5 separate regions of the Homo sapiens genome follow, and regions 2, 3, 4 and 5 are each linked to region 1. Evidence: promoter capture Hi-C in human tissues and cell types (Jung and others, 2019). All regions are on one chromosome and are shown on one strand. Each heading gives the region's core, a stretch centred on a gene start or on the middle of the fragment in contact. The rest is flanking DNA. Distances are from core to core; before and after follow the strand shown.

Region 1 (3,054 bases), core at 129-2,628:
AGGAAGCACCAGCTGCCGGGGCAGTACTGCTGGTGTTGGCCCAGGCCCAGCAGGGGCAGCGCGCAGAAGAGGACGCAGAAGGCGTAGATGGCTGGCAGCGCCAGGCGGGCGCAGCGGGGCCCGTCCAGCTGCGCGTAGAGGTAGGGGTGGCTCAGCGCCAGGCAGCGCTCCACGGCCATGGCAAAGAGGATGAGCATGGACGCCAGGCCGAAGAAGGTCATGGCGAAGGCGAAGGCATCGCACAGGGCGGGGCCGCCTCGGGCCAGGCCCAGCAGGGAGCTGTTGCGCGCATAGGCCACGAACACGGCCGGGCTCAGGAAGCTGGTGCCCAGCAGGTCGGTGGCCGCCAGTCCGGTCACCAGCACCGCGAAGGCCGAGGGGCGCGCCGGTCGCCGTGCGCTCAGGATGCCCAGGGCCAGCCCGTTGCCCACCACACCGGCCACGAACATCAGGGTGCTGGTGGCCGGCCCCACCGAGCCCCGCACGTAGGTGAGGTTCCTGCACGAATCCGCCATCCCAGGTCTGGGCTGGAGGGTTCCCAAGGTGGGGGGTCAGAGGGAGCCAGGGCTACCCCCACCACCCAGCCCACTCAGATGTCCCTGCTGGCCAGTCCTTTTGGCAGCTGGGGCCTCCCAGCCAACCCCCAGTTCTCCTGTGTGTGCGGGTATGCAGTCCTCTCCCCTCTGGCTTCTCCAGTATCTCTCTCTGTCTCTCCCCACCTTCCTGTTTCTCTTTCTCTCTTTCTTTTCTTTCGTTTCTTTTGAGACAGAGTCTCACTCTGTTGTCCAGGATGGAGAGCAATGGCATGATCTCGGCTCACTGCAACCTCCACCTCCTGGGTTCAAGCGATTCTCCTGCCCCAGCCTCTGGAGTAGATGAGATTACAGGCGTCCACTACCACGCCCAGCTAATTTTTGTATTTTCAGTAGAGACGGGGTTCCACCATGTTGGTCAGGCTGGTCTCGAACTCCTGACCTCAGGTGATCCATCCACCTTGGCTTCCCAAAGTGCTGAGATTACAGGTGTGAGCCACCATGCCTGACACCCACCACCCCCCCACCACCTCCTGTTTCTTTCCTTCTCTAGCTCTGTTTCTGCCATTAAAGAGACAGAGAACATCCGGGCATTGCCAGTTCTTTCCCTCCCTGTCTCTCGGTCTCTTGCTGATATCTCCCTGTCTCTGTCCCCTCCCTTGTCCTTGTCCTCCCCGTACCTTTCTCCCTCTAACCCCACACCCTCTACCTGCTCCTGCTCTGTGTTGCTGCATCCCCAGCCCCTCACCGCACCTCTCCAGTCTTGCCCAGGCTCTCCTGTCCCGTGCGTCTGTGCCTTCACTTGCTTTGCTCCTCGTGTCTCTCGCTGCCTGTGTCGGTCTGTGTGTCAGCTTCTCCTTCCCTCCTCCCTCCGTCCCTCCCTCCTTCCCACCCTCCTCAGCTTGCCTGCTCACCCCAGCTTTTTCATTTCCTCTCTCTGCCCCGCCCTCCCTCACTGTTCTCCAGAGGGCCCCCTGGCACACTCCCCACTCCCCGTCCACCCGCCCAATCCAGGACATCCATCTCCCATCGCTGCCTCCACTCTCCTCCCCACATCCTCTCTTGGTTCCCATCACTGAGCCACCTGCCACCTCCCCACACACAGGTCTCCTCCCTCCCCCAGTGTCTCCCTCTCTGGCCTGGGTGGGGAATTCCTGAGTCACCATCACTTAGGCTTGGAGCCTCCCGGGGTAGTAGGGGGCCTCTAGGAGGGACCTGAAGAGCACAGTTGACCAGGCTTCAGTGGGGTGGTCTTGGCCTGGGCTGTCTCAGGGTGGCCTCTGGGATCTATTCTGGGCTCCAGGCCCCGGGGCTGAGGACATTGCCCAGGGATTGAGAAATGACCAGGAAATTCCTCTCTGATGTAGTGTTTTCCAGACACCACTGAGAGTTCTGGTCCCTGGACACAATTCACTCCTTCCAGAAAGCTGAGGAAGGAGGCTTGGCCAGAGAGAGACATGCCAGTCCCTCGAGCCTGTCCCTGGGCACCCAGCTCACCCTGCAGAGACCCGAGAAGAAAGCATGAAGGGGTGTATTTGGTGTCCAGTTGTCAGGGACAGGCTTGGGAGACTTCCATGGCCCATGATGGAAAGGTAGCACTGGGCCACCGTCCGACTTCTCGCACAGCACCCCTAGGCCCCAGGCCAAGCTCTGGTGACCTTGACCTTCAGGAATCATATTTTGATCACAGGAAGCTGTCCACAGCTCCAACATTGCTGCCATGTGTCCCCCACCCTCCCCAAACACAGCCAAGCCACCACCGCTGCAGCCTCGGGCCAGTGTGACAGACCCACATGTTCCCGCTACCCGCACAGCGTTCACGGGTCTCCCTTCCCACGGAGTCGGTGGCTTCCCAGGCAGCCTCCCAGCCCAAAAGGGCCAGATAAAACCTCAGAGACCCTCTCTGAGCCCCGCTGTTTCTCAGGGGGACGGTCTCAGATCCATTCGACTTGGCTTCCTGTTTCCATCTGACCACCTTTTTTCTTGCTGCGAGATGGTCCCAGGTGAGGAGAGGGAGCTGGTAGACTTCAGCCTCCTTCTCTGTGCGTGGGGTAACACGGGCCTCAGGGACCTGGTGGCCAGCCTCGGCCTGCAGCACATCCCAGATTGGTCTTTGTAACAAGGAGAGAGGCTGTGCGGGTGTCTCTTGTCCAAGGCCAGGAGGGATGTGTCCAACCCAAGGACTGGACTGTGGGCAGCTGCCGTCTTGCCCTCTGTACCCCGGTGTGTGACCACAACCCCTTTGCCCCTCCCCCCCATCTCCCTATCACCCTTGCCCAGCTGGCACCCGCAGCTTCCAGCAGGATGGACGCCCAAGTTCCAGCCCCACCGTGGCTCCCTAAGGGACCCCCCAGCCCTGCTCTGGGGGTGCCTGTACATGTGGGCTCCAGGTCCTGCCACGTTGTCCCGCCTCATGCCGTGAGGTCCCCAGACAGACCAGAGGGAACTCAGGAAGTTATATCATATTAATGAAGGATGATGCCTGGCAGGCGTGCATCTTGTTTCGGCATCGGGGGGGCCT
Region 2 (3,104 bases), core at 554-3,053, 200 kb before region 1:
GTTTTATGTAAAAGGAAGTATATAGTGTGTGTCCTTTTTGGTCTGACTTCTTTGACTCCGCATAACGCTTCTGAGGTTCACCGATGTTGCTGTACGCATCTGAGGTTCATTCCTTTTTTTTTTTTTTTTTTTTGAGACGGAGTCTTACTCTGTCACCAAACTGTGACAGGAGGAGTGCTGTGGCACAATCTTGGCTCACCACAACCTCCGCCTCCCCGGTTCAAGCAATTCTTCTGCCTCAGCCTCCCGAGTAGCTGGGACTACAGGCACCCGCCACCACGCCCAGCTAGTTTTTGTCTTTTTAGTAGAGACAGGGTTTCACCATGTTGGCCAGGATGGTCTCGATCTCTTGACCTCATGATCTGCCCGCCTCAGCCTCCCAAGGTGCTGGGAGGGCGACCGCGCCCGGCCAGTACATTCTTTTTTGTTGCTAGGTCATATTCTGTTGCATGAATACATTGCAGTTTGTTTATTCATTCACCTGTCGTCGGCCATCGAGTTGTTTCTAGTTTTTGGTTCTTAGAAATAAAGCTGCTGCCGGGCGCCGTGGCTCACGCCTGTAATCCCAGCACTTTGGGAGGCCGAGACAGGCGGATCACGAGGTCAGGAGATCGAGACCATCCTGACTAACACAGTGAAACCCCGTCTCTACTAAAAATACAAAAAAAATTAGCTGGGCGTGGTGGCGGGCGCCTGTAGTCCCAGCTACTAGGGAGACTGAGGCAGGAGAATGGCGTGAACCCTGGAGGCGGAGCTTGCAGTGAGCTGAGATCGCGCCACTGCACTCCAGCCTGGGTAACAGAGTGAGACTCCGTCTCAAAAAATAAAAAAGAAAAAAAAAAAAAGAAAGCCTGAAGGGCGACTGAAAGTCAGAGGGAACAGCAGGTGAAGAGCTGTGTGCTCTGTGCCCACCTAGGCACATATGCCCACCCCTTCCCTGTTCCCCCCAACTTCCTGCCCCATCAGCCAGGGGTCCCACAGCACCAGAGGGCACATGCAGCTGGGATATACGTATATATATGTTTTTTTCCTTTTTGAGACGGAGTCTTACTCTGTCGCCCAGGCTGGAGTGCAGTAGCATGATCTTGGCTCACTGGAACCTCTGCCTCCCAGCTTTATGCTATTCTCCCACCTCAGCCTCCCGAGTAGCTGGGATTACAGGTGCGCAACACCACGCCCGGCTAATTTTTGTATTTTTAGTTGAGACGGGGTTTCACCATGTTGGCCAGGCTGGTCTCAAACTCCTAGCCTCAAGTGATCCACCTGCCTCAGCCTCCAAAAGTGCTGGGATTACAGGCGTGAACCACTGCACCTGGCCGGAATCACAAGTTATGTGTCGGTCACTCAGAGACTCAGAGACTGCCTTCAGAATCCCTGTTTCTCACCAAGGACTGTTGGGAGGAGGCCTCAGGGTGCTGTCTCCCTGGATCCACCAAGACCTCATTCCTCTTTGTGCTGTGCCAGCCCTCCATGTGGTGGAGCACGTGGGCTCTGGAGCTAGGCTGCCTGGGTTCAAATTCTGGCTCTATCACCCTGTGGCTGTGTGATCTTGGGTCAGTTCCTTCACCTCTCTGAGCCTTGGCTTCCTTCTCTGCAAAATGGCAGTTGTAATGAGACTTAACCTCATGGAGAGGTTGTGAGCAGTTCACGAGACCATGATAGGTATTGGCACAGAACCCAGGGATGGTAAATGCTCACAGTTATTAGAAAAGGCAGAGTGGGCCAGGCATGGTGGCTCATGCCTGTAATCCCAGCACTTTGGGAGGCCAAGGCGGGCAGATCACAAGGTCAGGAGATCGAGACCATCCTGGCTAACATGGTGACACCCTGACTCTACTAAAAATACAAAAAATTAGCCGGGCGTAGTGGCACGCGCCTTTAGTCCCAGCTACTTGGGAGGCTGAGGCAGGAGAATCACTTGAACCTAGGAGGCGGAGGTTGCAGTGAGCCAAGATCGCACCACAACACTCCAGCCTGGGCCACAGAGCGAGACTCCATCTCAAAAAAAAAAAAAAAAAAAAAAGCAGTGTGGTCTAGCTGTTTGTAGACTCAGTTCCGGTTCACATCCTGGCTCTGTTTACAAATCGTGTGGCTCTGTGCCTCAGTTTCCAAATCTGGAGAATGAGATTGTATCAGTCTCATGGTGTTGAGTCTTATGAGGATTAAATTGTTTGTGTAAAATGCTTAGAATAGTGCCTGGTAGATATGATTATTCAATATGCACGAAGATTATTCTCTGCTCTAAGCCCCCACTTAGAACCAGAGCGTGTACTGCAGTTTCAAACAGGCCCTCAGAGTGCCACCCACCTCTGGCTTGTTTCTCAAGGAATCCTGAAGAATTTCTTCTGCCCAGCCGTTTACCAGAGAAATCATGCTCTATGACTCCGATGTCAGCTGGGGCCTCCCAGACTGAGAGAGACCCGAATCAGTGTGAGGAGCACAGAATGTGGTCAGAGGCCTGTTTTCAATTCCTGTTGTGCTTTGCTCTGTAGCCTTAGACAAGTTACTTAGCCTTTCTGAGCTTTACTTTCTTCATCCATAGAATGAGATGATGATCTTAATAATAGTACAGTTTGATAATCTAATCTCTTATCTGGTCTTTTTTTTTTTTTTGAGATGTAGGGGGGTATCACTCTGTCATCCAGGCTGGAGTGCAGTGGTGCAATCACAGTTCACTGCAGCCTTGATCTGCTGGCCTCAAGCGATCCTTCCACCTCAGCCTCCAGAGTAGCTGGGACTACAGGTGCATGCCACCGTGCCTAATTTTTTTTTTTTTTTTTTTAGTTTTTGTAGAGATAGGGGTCTTGCTGTGTTGACCAGGCTGGTTTTGAACTCCTGGCCTCAAGCAATTCTCCCACCTTGGCCTCCCAAAGTACTGGGATTACAGGCGTGACCCACTGCACCTAGCCCACTACAGAAGTATTGATGGGATTATAAGGGCTTCCCGCATCCCCCTGGGAAGTAAATTCTACAATATAAGGTATAGTCACTGTATCATTTTTCTAAAATCCAAAACTCTGAACCACATATACCCCTGAAACCACACCTGGCTGAGGGTTTTTATAAGGGATTGTGGACCTATAGGGCCATAACTCACAGGGTTG
Region 3 (3,097 bases), core at 357-2,856, 220 kb before region 1:
GATTCCAAATCGAATGGTTCACAGGAGTGGACATATGCTGTCTGTGGTTTTTTTTTTTTGTTTTTTTTTTTTCCCCAGACAGAGTCTCACTCTGTCGCCCAGGCTGGAGTGCAGTGGCGGGATCTCGGCTCACTGCAACCTCCGCCTCCCGGGTTCAAGCAATTCTCCTGCCTCACCCTCCCGAGTAGCTGGGATTACAGGCGTGCGCCACCGCGCCTGGCCCCAACCTGCATTTTCATTGGTTGCAGGGATAAAAGGCAAGTCCCACCAGAAAATCAATGCCAACCAGGAACTGAGGGTGGCGGTGTTCAGTCTGTTCCCAGGGTTTTGAGAACTGGTGCAGTGCCTAACAAGCACACACGTTCCCCTTAGTAAGGAAATACGGTTAAGAATGAAGTAAAAAAAAAATTGTTTTCTTTCAATTTATGTGTCTATATATTTTCATTTTTTATGTTAATAAAGACAAGGTCTCGCTATGTTGCCCAGGCTGATCTCAAACTCCTTAGCTCTACATATTTTCAAATGGCTACTAACTTCTTAGGACATAAGAGCTTAGGTTGTTTAGACCTCACCAGATGAGAATGGAACTGTTAGGTATTTCTTTGGGGGCGCTATGGAAAAAATGACTGAATTACTAAGGTCTGGTGCACCAAGCAAGTCCAGAGCCACCTGCACCAGGGCACAGGGGTTGAGAGCCTGGGCTCTGGAGTCAGAAGACCTAGGTTTGCCACCTCACTTTGCCATCCTTGGGCATTGTGCGACCTCTGCGCCTGTAAAACGGGAATAGTTAACAGTTGTGGGATTAGTGACAAAGCCCATAGAAAACATTCAGACAGGCCGGGCGTGGTGGCGGGCGCCTGTAGTCCCAGCTACTCGGGAGGCTGAGGCAGGAGAATGGCGTGAACCCGGGAGGCGGAGCTTGCAGTGAGCCGAGATCGTGCCACTGCACTCCAGCCTGGGCGACAGAGCGAGACTCCCTCTCAAAAACAAACGAACAAAAACATTCAGACAATCCCTGGCATGTCTTAGCAGGCGATAAATGTTAGTTTTATAAATTTATTTATTTAACCAAAATGGACTCATTCTACATATGTATTTCTATCATTTTTTTCCTTATTATTATCTGGACATTTTTTTCTAGGCAGGCCTGTAAGGATCTTTCTTTCTTTCTCTTGCCTTCCTTCTTTTTTTTCTTTTTTCTTTTTTTTTTTTTTTTTTTTTTTTGAGACAGGGTCTTGCTCTGTCACTCGGGTTGGAGTGCAGTAGCACGATCTCAGCTAACTGCAGCCTCCATCTCCTGGGCTCAAGCTATCTCCTCCCACCTCAGCCTCCTGAATAGCTGGGAACACATGCCACCACGCCCGACTAATTTTTTGTAGAGACAGGGTTTCACCATGTTGCCCAGTCTTTTCTCACTCCTGAGCTCAAGCCATCCTCCTGCCTCAGCCTCCCAAAGTGCTGGAATTATAGGCATGAGCCACTGCGCCTGGGCAACTGTTCTTTCTAATAGCCCCCTAGTCTGCATCCTTCAGGGACTTCTTAAAGTAAAAACGTCCAGCCAGGCGCAGTGGCTCACGCCTGTAATCCCAGCACTTTGGGAGGCCGAGGTGGGTGGATCACGAGGTCAGGAGATCAAGACCACCCTGGCCAATATGGTGAAACCCCGTCTCTACTAAAAATACAAAAATTAGCCGGGCATGGTGACACGTGCCTGTAATCTCAGCTACTCGGAGGCTGAGGCAAGAGAATCACTGGAACCAGGGAGCTGGAGGTTGCAGTGAGCTGAGATTGCACCACTGCACTCCAACCTGGTGACAGAGCGAGACTCCGTCTCAAAAAAAAAAAAAAAAAAAGAAAAAAGAACTCCAAGACTTCAAGGTTCCCCTGAAGCTTGGATGCAAACGTAAAGCCTGACCTATCCTCATTGATAAATAGGCCCTTATTCTCCCTTCCCTTCCATTACTTCCCTCCTTCTCATAGGAAGGCATTCCATTTCTTCATCCTGCCATTTGAGGCCTCTGCCTCTGTGTCCTGCCCTGGCTAAGGCCCCTGCCTCTGTCTCCACCATGCCTTGTGACCCTGGAGAGGTCCCTCAATTCCTTAAGCCACAGGTTCCTCATCTATATAATGGGGATGATAATAATAGAAGCTGCATCCCTGGGCTGCTGTGAGAATTACAGAGTTCAACCCCCAAGGCTATGACGAATCTGCCCGTAGTAAAGAGTGAGGCTGGGGGCGGTGGCTCACCCCTGTAATCCCAGCACTTTGGGAGGCCAAGGCAGGTGGATCACTTGAGATCAGGAGTTCAAGACCAGCCAGGCCAACATGGTGAAACCCCGTCTCTACTAAAAATACAAAAATTAGCCAGGTGTGGTGGCAGGAGCCTGTAATCCCAGCCATTAGGGAGGCCGAGGGCAGAAGAATCGCTTGAGCCCGGGAGGCAAAGGTTGCAGTGAACCGAGATCGCTTCACTGCCCTCCAGCCTGGGTGACAAAGCGAGACTCCTTCTCAAAAACAAACAAACAAAAAACCAAACTGTTCCCCTGAACTTGTTTTTTTGTGGCAGCGGGTGGCAGCTGGGCCTGTCAGATAGAGGCTGATTTGGAATCAAGACATCGGTCTTTTGGGGCAACCGTTCAGATTCTGTGAGTTTGAAACCACAAATGCCAAAGTTTAAATTGGGAGACTGGACCCTGCAGGCACTATTTAAATCCCTTTTTGTGTTACAAATAGTGAACCCCCCCTGCTGCCATCTGCAGGCCACTAAAGTGTCCATTCCACATCTGAGTCCTGGGCGATTCTGAAGTGGGATCCCGAGGACAGAGATACTAATAAGTTGGCTCACGCCTGTAATCGCAGCACTTTGGGAGGCCGAGGCACGCAGATCACGAGGTCAGGAGTTCGAGACCAGCCTGGCCAACATGGTGAAACCTCGTCTCTACTAAAAATACAAAAAATTAGCTGGGTGAGGTGGCGGGAGCCTGTAATCCCAGCTACTCAGGAGGCTGAGGTAGGAGAATCACTTGAAACCAGAAGGCGGAGGTTGCAGTGAGCTGAGATTGTGCCACTGCACTCCAGCCTGGGCGACAGAGCGAGA
Region 4 (3,290 bases), core at 301-2,800, 190 kb after region 1:
TGGGATTACAGGCGCCCGCCACCACGCCTGGCTAATTTTTATATTTTTTGGTAGAGACAGGGTTTCCCTGTGTTGGCGAGGCTGGTCTCGAACTCCTGGCCTCAAGTGATCCTCCTGCCTCAGCCACCCAAAGTCTGGGATTACAGACATGAGACACAGTGCCCAGCCAAAAGCTTATCTTTCTTATTTATTTATTTATTTATTTTTGAAACAGAGTCTCACTCTGTCGCCCAAGCTAGAGTGCAGTGGCACAATCTCAGCTCACTGCAACCTCCACCTCCCAGTTTCAAGTGATTCTCCTGCCTCAGTCCCCTGAGTAGTTGGGATTGCAGGTGTGCACCACCACACCCGGCTAGTTTTTTCTGTTTTTAGTAGAGACAGGATTTCACCATGTTGGCCAGGCTGGTCTCGAACTCCTGACCTCAGGTGATCTGCCCACCTCGGCCTCCCAAACTGCTAGGATTACAGGCTTAAGCCACCGTACCTGGCCTATTTGTTTTTGGAGATGAGGTCTCGCTATTTTCCTCAGGCTGGACTCAAATTCCTGGGCTCAAGTGATCCTCCCACCTCAGCCTCCCAAAATCCTAGTGTTTACAGGTGTGAGCCCCAGCACTTGACATAAGAGAACTATTTTAAAATTTATTTTTAGAGACAGAGTCTCACCCCATCACCCAGGCTGGAGTGCAGCAGTGTGATCATAGCTCACTGCAGCCTTGAACTCCTGGGCTCAAACAATCCTCTCAACTCAGCCTCCTGAGTAGCTGGGACTACAGGCGTGCACCACCATGCCCAGCTAATTTTTTTGATTTTTTTGTAGAGATGAGGTCTCACTATGTTGCCCAGACTGGTCTTAAACTCCTGGGCTCAAGGGATCCTCCTGCTTCAGCCTCCCACAGTGCTGAGATTACAGGCATGAGCCACTGCACCTGGCCAAGACAATTTTTTGAAAGAGCTCAGTGCTGCAAGAAGAATTCGTCTGCAATCTGAGTGAGGATAAGGAACCTGCCTGATGAGGGACTGAGAAGAGAGAAGCTGGCAAAAGAAATAGCAAGTGCAATGAACCAGACGTGAGAATGAACTTGAAGTGGTCAGGAATCAGATGGAGACCAGGGGCCATGGCTCACACCTGTAATCCCAGCACTTTGGGAGGCCAAGGCGGGTGGATCATCTGAGGTCGGGAGTTCAAGACCAGCCTGGCCAACATAGTGGAACCCCGTCTCTACTAAAAATACAAAAATTAGCTGGGCATGTTGGCGGGCGCCTGTAATCCCAACTACTTGGGAGGCTGAGGCAAAAGAATTGCTTGAACCCAGGAGGTGGAGGTTGTAGTGAGCCGAGATCACGCCACTGCACTCCAGCCTGGGCGACAGAGCGAGATTCTGTCTCAAAATAAATAAATAAACAAAAATGAAAAGAATTAGAAGGAACAGGGTGGCTGGATTCAAGGGATTGTGGGGAAGTGTCATCAGATGTGGCTGAAGAGGTAGGTTGAGATGGGCATCATAGACTCTGTGAAGAACTTAAGAACCTCCTCTTCCAGGAAGCCCTTCTTGACTGCATCAACTAGGTTTTCCCATCCCAGCCCTGTTCCCACTAGGTTGTTGCTCTTGGGGCACTGGCCTATCTGCTCCGCTGGCCTGTGAGCCCTCTGACGGCCAGGCCAGTCACCACTATGTCCTCAGCATCACCTAGCACAGGCCTGAGCACACAGGAGGTGGTCGGTAAATGCCCAGGTCATTCTGGCACTGCCAGCAAGCCCCAAGAAGCATCCCTTGCTCTGCCTCCCCGCCGCGCACCTCTGTTCCTGGGCGTAGCACCAGGGATTCCTGAGTTCCCCGTTTGGCCATTCACACTGGTTTCAGCCTAGCCTCTTTCATCCCATCCTCAAAGGCCCATGTGGGGAGGAGGCCGGGATCCAGCCGCCTCTGATGGGCTGCAGGCCGGAGGTGAAGGCTCTGAAGTGGGCAGATCAAACGCCATGTGGGTTGGGCCGCCGTTGGGGAGGCTGAGAGGAGACGCAGGTTCCCAGGCATGAGTGTGCAGGGTGGAGAACAGGAGAGCCAGGCCAGATGGGGACCAGCAAAGGGGCCCATATGTTCACCCGTCTTTATAATAACACAGCTTCCAATTGTTGATTCATTACGGCCAGGTACAGGGTTAATTTTTTTTTTTTTTTTTTTTTTGAGACAGGGTCTCACTCTGTCACCCAGACTGGAGTGCTGTGGTGACATCATGGCTCACTACAGGCGTGTGCTACCATGCCTGGTTTATTATTTTTAAAAATGTTTTGTAGGCTGGGTATGGTGGCTCAAGCCTGTAATCCCAGCACTTTGGGACGCTGAGGCGGACGGATCACCTGAGGTCAGGAGTTCAAGACCAGCATGGCCAACATGGTGAAACTCCATCTCTACTAAAAATACAATAATTAGCCGGGTGTGGTGGCAGGCACCTGGAGTCTCAGCTACTAGGGAGGTTGAGGCAGAAGAATCGCTTTAACCCAGGAGGCGGAGGCTGCAGTGAGCCAAGATCACGCCACTGCACTCCAGCCTGGGTGACATCACGAGACTCTGTCTCAAAATAGAAAAAAATGTTTTGTAGAAACAGGATCTCACTATGTCACCCAGGCTGGAGTGGAGGCACCGTTGTAGCTCAATCCAGCCTCGAACTGCTGAGCTCAAGTGATCCTCCCACCTCAGCCTCCCAAAGTGCTGAGATTATGGGTATGAGCCACCATGCCCAGCTAAAAGTCAATTCTTTTGATAGAAAGGTCAGAAGAGCAGAGAAGATCAAACAGCTGGTTCATGTGCTGATGGGAATGATCTGGATTTCTAGATTCCAGAAGAGAAGCAAGAGAGGAAAGTGGCTGGATTGTTGTCGTTGAGTAAGCAAGAGGGGAACCATCCCTAGGCTCAAGAGAAGAGGTCTTGAGAAAGAGTATATGGCAGCCAGGCGCGGTGGCTCACACCTGTAATCCAAGTACTTTGGGAGGCCGAGGCGGGCGGATCACGAGGTCAGGAGATCGAGACCATCCTGGCTAACATGGTGAAGCCCTGTCTCTACAAAAAAAAAAATTACAAAATATTAGCCAGGTGTGGTGGCAGGCACCTGTAATCTCAGCAACTCAGGAGGCTGAGGCAGGAGAATTGCTTGAACCTGGAAGGTGGAGGTTGCAGTGAGCCGAGATCACGCCATTGCACTCCAGCCTGGGCTACAAGAGTGAGATTCCGTCTCAAAAAAAAAAAAAAAGAAAGAAAGAAAGAGTATAAGGCACTCTGAGAGGCTGAGGCGGG
Region 5 (3,089 bases), core at 344-2,843, 140 kb after region 1:
ATCGCTTGAACCCAGGAGGCGGAGGTTGCAGTGAGCCAAGATCATGCCACTGCACTCCAGCCTGGGTGACAGAGCGAGACTCTGTCTCAAAAACAAACAAGAAAGAACAGTATTTCCATACTAGTTCAGACCAACTAAATTTTAGCCTTACTTGGAGGTGAAAACCCTGGCCAAAAATCTCTCTCTTGTACGTACAAAGTCCTTTTTGTTTTTAAATAGCCTCGGAATCTTCCAGGAAGTGCAACTACCACAAAAAATGAGGGAAGCTTGTATCGTGTTTTGTTCAAAACTTGGCCAAAGGTTGTCCACCATGTGAAAAAACTCACATTGCACATGGCTCTTGGTAATTGGACACCAGTCCACGTGTTTTCAATGTGTTGGAACTGTCTATATTACAGGCATAAACATCTGCCTACCTCCTTGGGTTCTAGGGGACTGGCTCCACACATCCGCATAATGAAATGCTTATTGTAAGTTACTATGTTCTTATTTCTCCTTTTTATTACATTTAGGGCAATCAAGGATCGTTTTTGTTGCTGCTGCTGTTGTTGTTGTTTCTGAGACAGGGTCTCACTCTGTCACCCAGGCTGCAGTGCAGTGGCACAGTCTTGGCTCACTGCAGCCTCAACTTCCCAGGCTCAGGCGATTCTCCCACCTCAGCCTCCCGAGTAGCTGGGACTACAGATAAGTACTACCACACCCAGCTTTTATATATATATATATATAAATATATTTATATATATAATGTCTCTACTAAAAATACAAAAATTAGCTAGGTGCGGTGTCGCACGCCTGTAATGCCAGCAGTTTGGGAGGCCAAGGCGGATGGATTACTTGAGGTCAGGAGTTCGAGACCAGCCTGGCCAACATGGTGAAACCCCATCTCTACTAAAAATACGTGTGTGTGTGTGTGTGTGTGTGTGTGTGTGTGTATTTTAAGTAGAGATGGGGTTTCACCATGTTGCTCAGGCTGGTCTCAAATTCCTGGACTCGAGTGATCTGCCCACCTTGGCCTCCCAAAGTAGGATTTTCTTAAATCATGTTAAATCATGTGCCAGTGGGTTATACTGTCTATGAACTTCATTTCAGGAGAACAGAGAGAACTTTCCCAGAACTGACATTCAAGCCAGCACACGCCCTGGTATGGCCACGCCAGTGGTTAAGACAGCAAAACACTAAATTATGGATTATTTACTCATTCATAAACGGTCACTGCCATGAACCCCCTGACTATTAGTATCCTCCTAGCTCTCCCTGGGGATCCCCTGGGCTGCCCTCTGGCCCAGAAGTCCAGGGGTTAAACTGGGTATAGTGGGAGATAAGAGGGACCCATATCCCGGATGTTGGATGGACTGATGACTTTGCCAAGCAGTAAATATTTTGTCTATCAGCCCTACATGTTACAAAATATTTGCTATGAACAATAGTGGCATGTAAAGACCTGTCTACATTAGCCAGGTGTGGTGGCTAATGCCTGTAATCCCAACGCTTTGGAAGACCAAGGCTGGAGGATCACATGAGCCCAGGAGGTGGAGGCCACCCAGGGTAATATGTTGAGACCCTGTCTCTACCAAAAAAATTTAGGAGGGGCGAGTGGCTCATGCCTGTAATCCCAGCACTTTGGGAGGCTGAGGCGGGCAGATCACTTGAGGTCAGGAGTTTGAGACCAGCCCAGTCAACATGGTGAAACCACGTCTCTACTAAAAATACAAAAATTAGCCAGGTGTGGCGGCTCACACCTGTAATCCCAGCACTTTGGGAGGCCGAAGAGGGCGGATTACTTGAGGTCAGGAGTTCAAGACCAGCCTGAACAACATGGTGAAACCCCATCCCTACTAAAAATACAAAAATTAGCCGGGCGTGATGGTGGGTGCCTGTAATCCCAGCTACTCAGGAAGCTGAGGCAGGAGAATTGCTTGAACCTGGGAGGTGGAGGTTGCAGTGAGCCGAGATTGCACCACTGCACTCCAGCCTGGGCAACAGAGCAAGATTCTGTCTCAAAAATAAAATAAGGTAAATAAAAAATAAAAAACCTGTCTACAAATGCACCTTTATGCACAATAGCCCCAACCTGGAAACCATCAGATGTAAATCAACAGGTGGGTGGATAAGCAAACTGTGGTACACTCAGACAACATAATACTCCTTAGCAAGTTTTTTAAAAAAGGAAAGAACTGGGCCGGACGTGGTGGCTCACGCCTGTAATCCCAGCACTTTGGGAGGTCGAGGCGGGCCGATCACCTGAGGTCGGGAGTTCAAGACCAGCCTGACCAACATGGCAAAACCCTGTCTCTACTAAAAATACAAAATTAGCTGGGCATGGTGGCACATGCCTGTAATCCCAGCCACTTGGGAGGCCAAGGCAGGAGAATCACTTGAACTCGGGAGGCGGAGGTTGTAGTGAGCCGAGATTGTGCCATTGCACTCCAGTCTGGGCAACAAGAGTGAAACTCCATCTCAAAAAAAAAAAAAGAAAAGAAAAGAAAGAACAAACTACTGATACATGCAAAAATAAGAATAAATCCCAAAAGCATTATGACACATAAAAAAAAGCCAGATGCAAGACGCTACATAGTATATGATTCCACCAATGTAAAATTCTAGAAGAGGTAAAACTAATTCATAGTGACCAAAAGCAGATCAGTGGTTACCGGGGCCTGGAGCTGGAGAGAGGGGCAGACTGCAAAGAAGCATGAGGAAATTTGGGGATGATGAGAATATCATGTATCTTGATTATGGGAGTGGTTTTTCACAGTATATTCATCTGTCAAAACTCATTTAACTGTATTTTATTTATTTATTTATTTATTTTGAGACAGGGTCTCGCAGCATTGCTCAGGCTGGTCTCAAACTCCTGGGCTCAAGCGATCCTTCTGCCTCGGCCTCTCAAAGTGCTGGAATTACAGGCATGAGCCTGGCCTAATTGATTTTAACGGGTGCAATTTATCATATGAAACAATTTTTTTGGAGCCAGCCTTGCTCTGTTGCCCAGGCTAGAGTGCAGTGGTGCAGTCTTGGCTCACTGCAACCTCTACCTTCTGGATTCAAGTGATTCTCATGCCTCAGCCACCTGAGTAGCTGGGATTACA

The links. The method cuts DNA at HindIII sites, captures the fragments that hold promoters and counts their contacts. A contact is called where the count stands out against the background at its distance.
Region 2: a contact is called between a fragment that was not itself captured here and the fragment with the promoter of PTGIR in region 1, in 1 of the 25 tissues and cell types used here (dorsolateral prefrontal cortex).
Region 3: a contact is called between a fragment that was not itself captured here and the fragment with the promoter of PTGIR in region 1, in 1 of the 25 tissues and cell types used here (psoas muscle).
Region 4: a contact is called between a fragment that was not itself captured here and the fragment with the promoter of PTGIR in region 1, in 2 of the 25 tissues and cell types used here (dorsolateral prefrontal cortex and lymphoblastoid cells).
Region 5: a contact is called between a fragment that was not itself captured here and the fragment with the promoter of PTGIR in region 1, in 2 of the 25 tissues and cell types used here (dorsolateral prefrontal cortex and small bowel).

The regions. Positions count from the first base shown.
Region 1 is chr19:46,623,711-46,626,764 of GRCh38, forward strand. PTGIR (prostaglandin I2 receptor) reads right to left here and starts at 1,379. Exons shown (of 3, transcript NM_000960.4): 1 at 1,287-1,379; 2 at 1-527. The coding sequence starts at 515. RefSeq lists an enhancer at 1,594-2,094. The HindIII fragment of the contact is 28,599 bases long and covers 1-3,054 here.
Region 2 is chr19:46,420,989-46,424,092 of GRCh38, forward strand. No RefSeq gene overlaps it. Among named protein-coding and RNA genes, the nearest start is that of PNMA8C, 6.4 kb to the right of the region's middle. RefSeq lists an enhancer at 2,472-2,521. The HindIII fragment of the contact is 8,713 bases long and covers 1-3,104 here.
Region 3 is chr19:46,399,078-46,402,174 of GRCh38, forward strand. All of the region lies in intron 1 of PPP5C-AS1 (PPP5C antisense RNA 1), which reads right to left. Among named protein-coding and RNA genes, the nearest start is that of PPP5C-AS1, 3.6 kb to the right of the region's middle. The HindIII fragment of the contact is 5,392 bases long and covers 1-3,097 here.
Region 4 is chr19:46,814,487-46,817,776 of GRCh38, forward strand. No RefSeq gene overlaps it. Among named protein-coding and RNA genes, the nearest start is that of SNAR-E, 15 kb to the right of the region's middle. The HindIII fragment of the contact is 5,866 bases long and covers 1-3,290 here.
Region 5 is chr19:46,761,321-46,764,409 of GRCh38, forward strand. No RefSeq gene overlaps it. Among named protein-coding and RNA genes, the nearest start is that of STRN4, 16 kb to the left of the region's middle. RefSeq lists a silencer at 132-426. The HindIII fragment of the contact is 5,780 bases long and covers 1-3,089 here.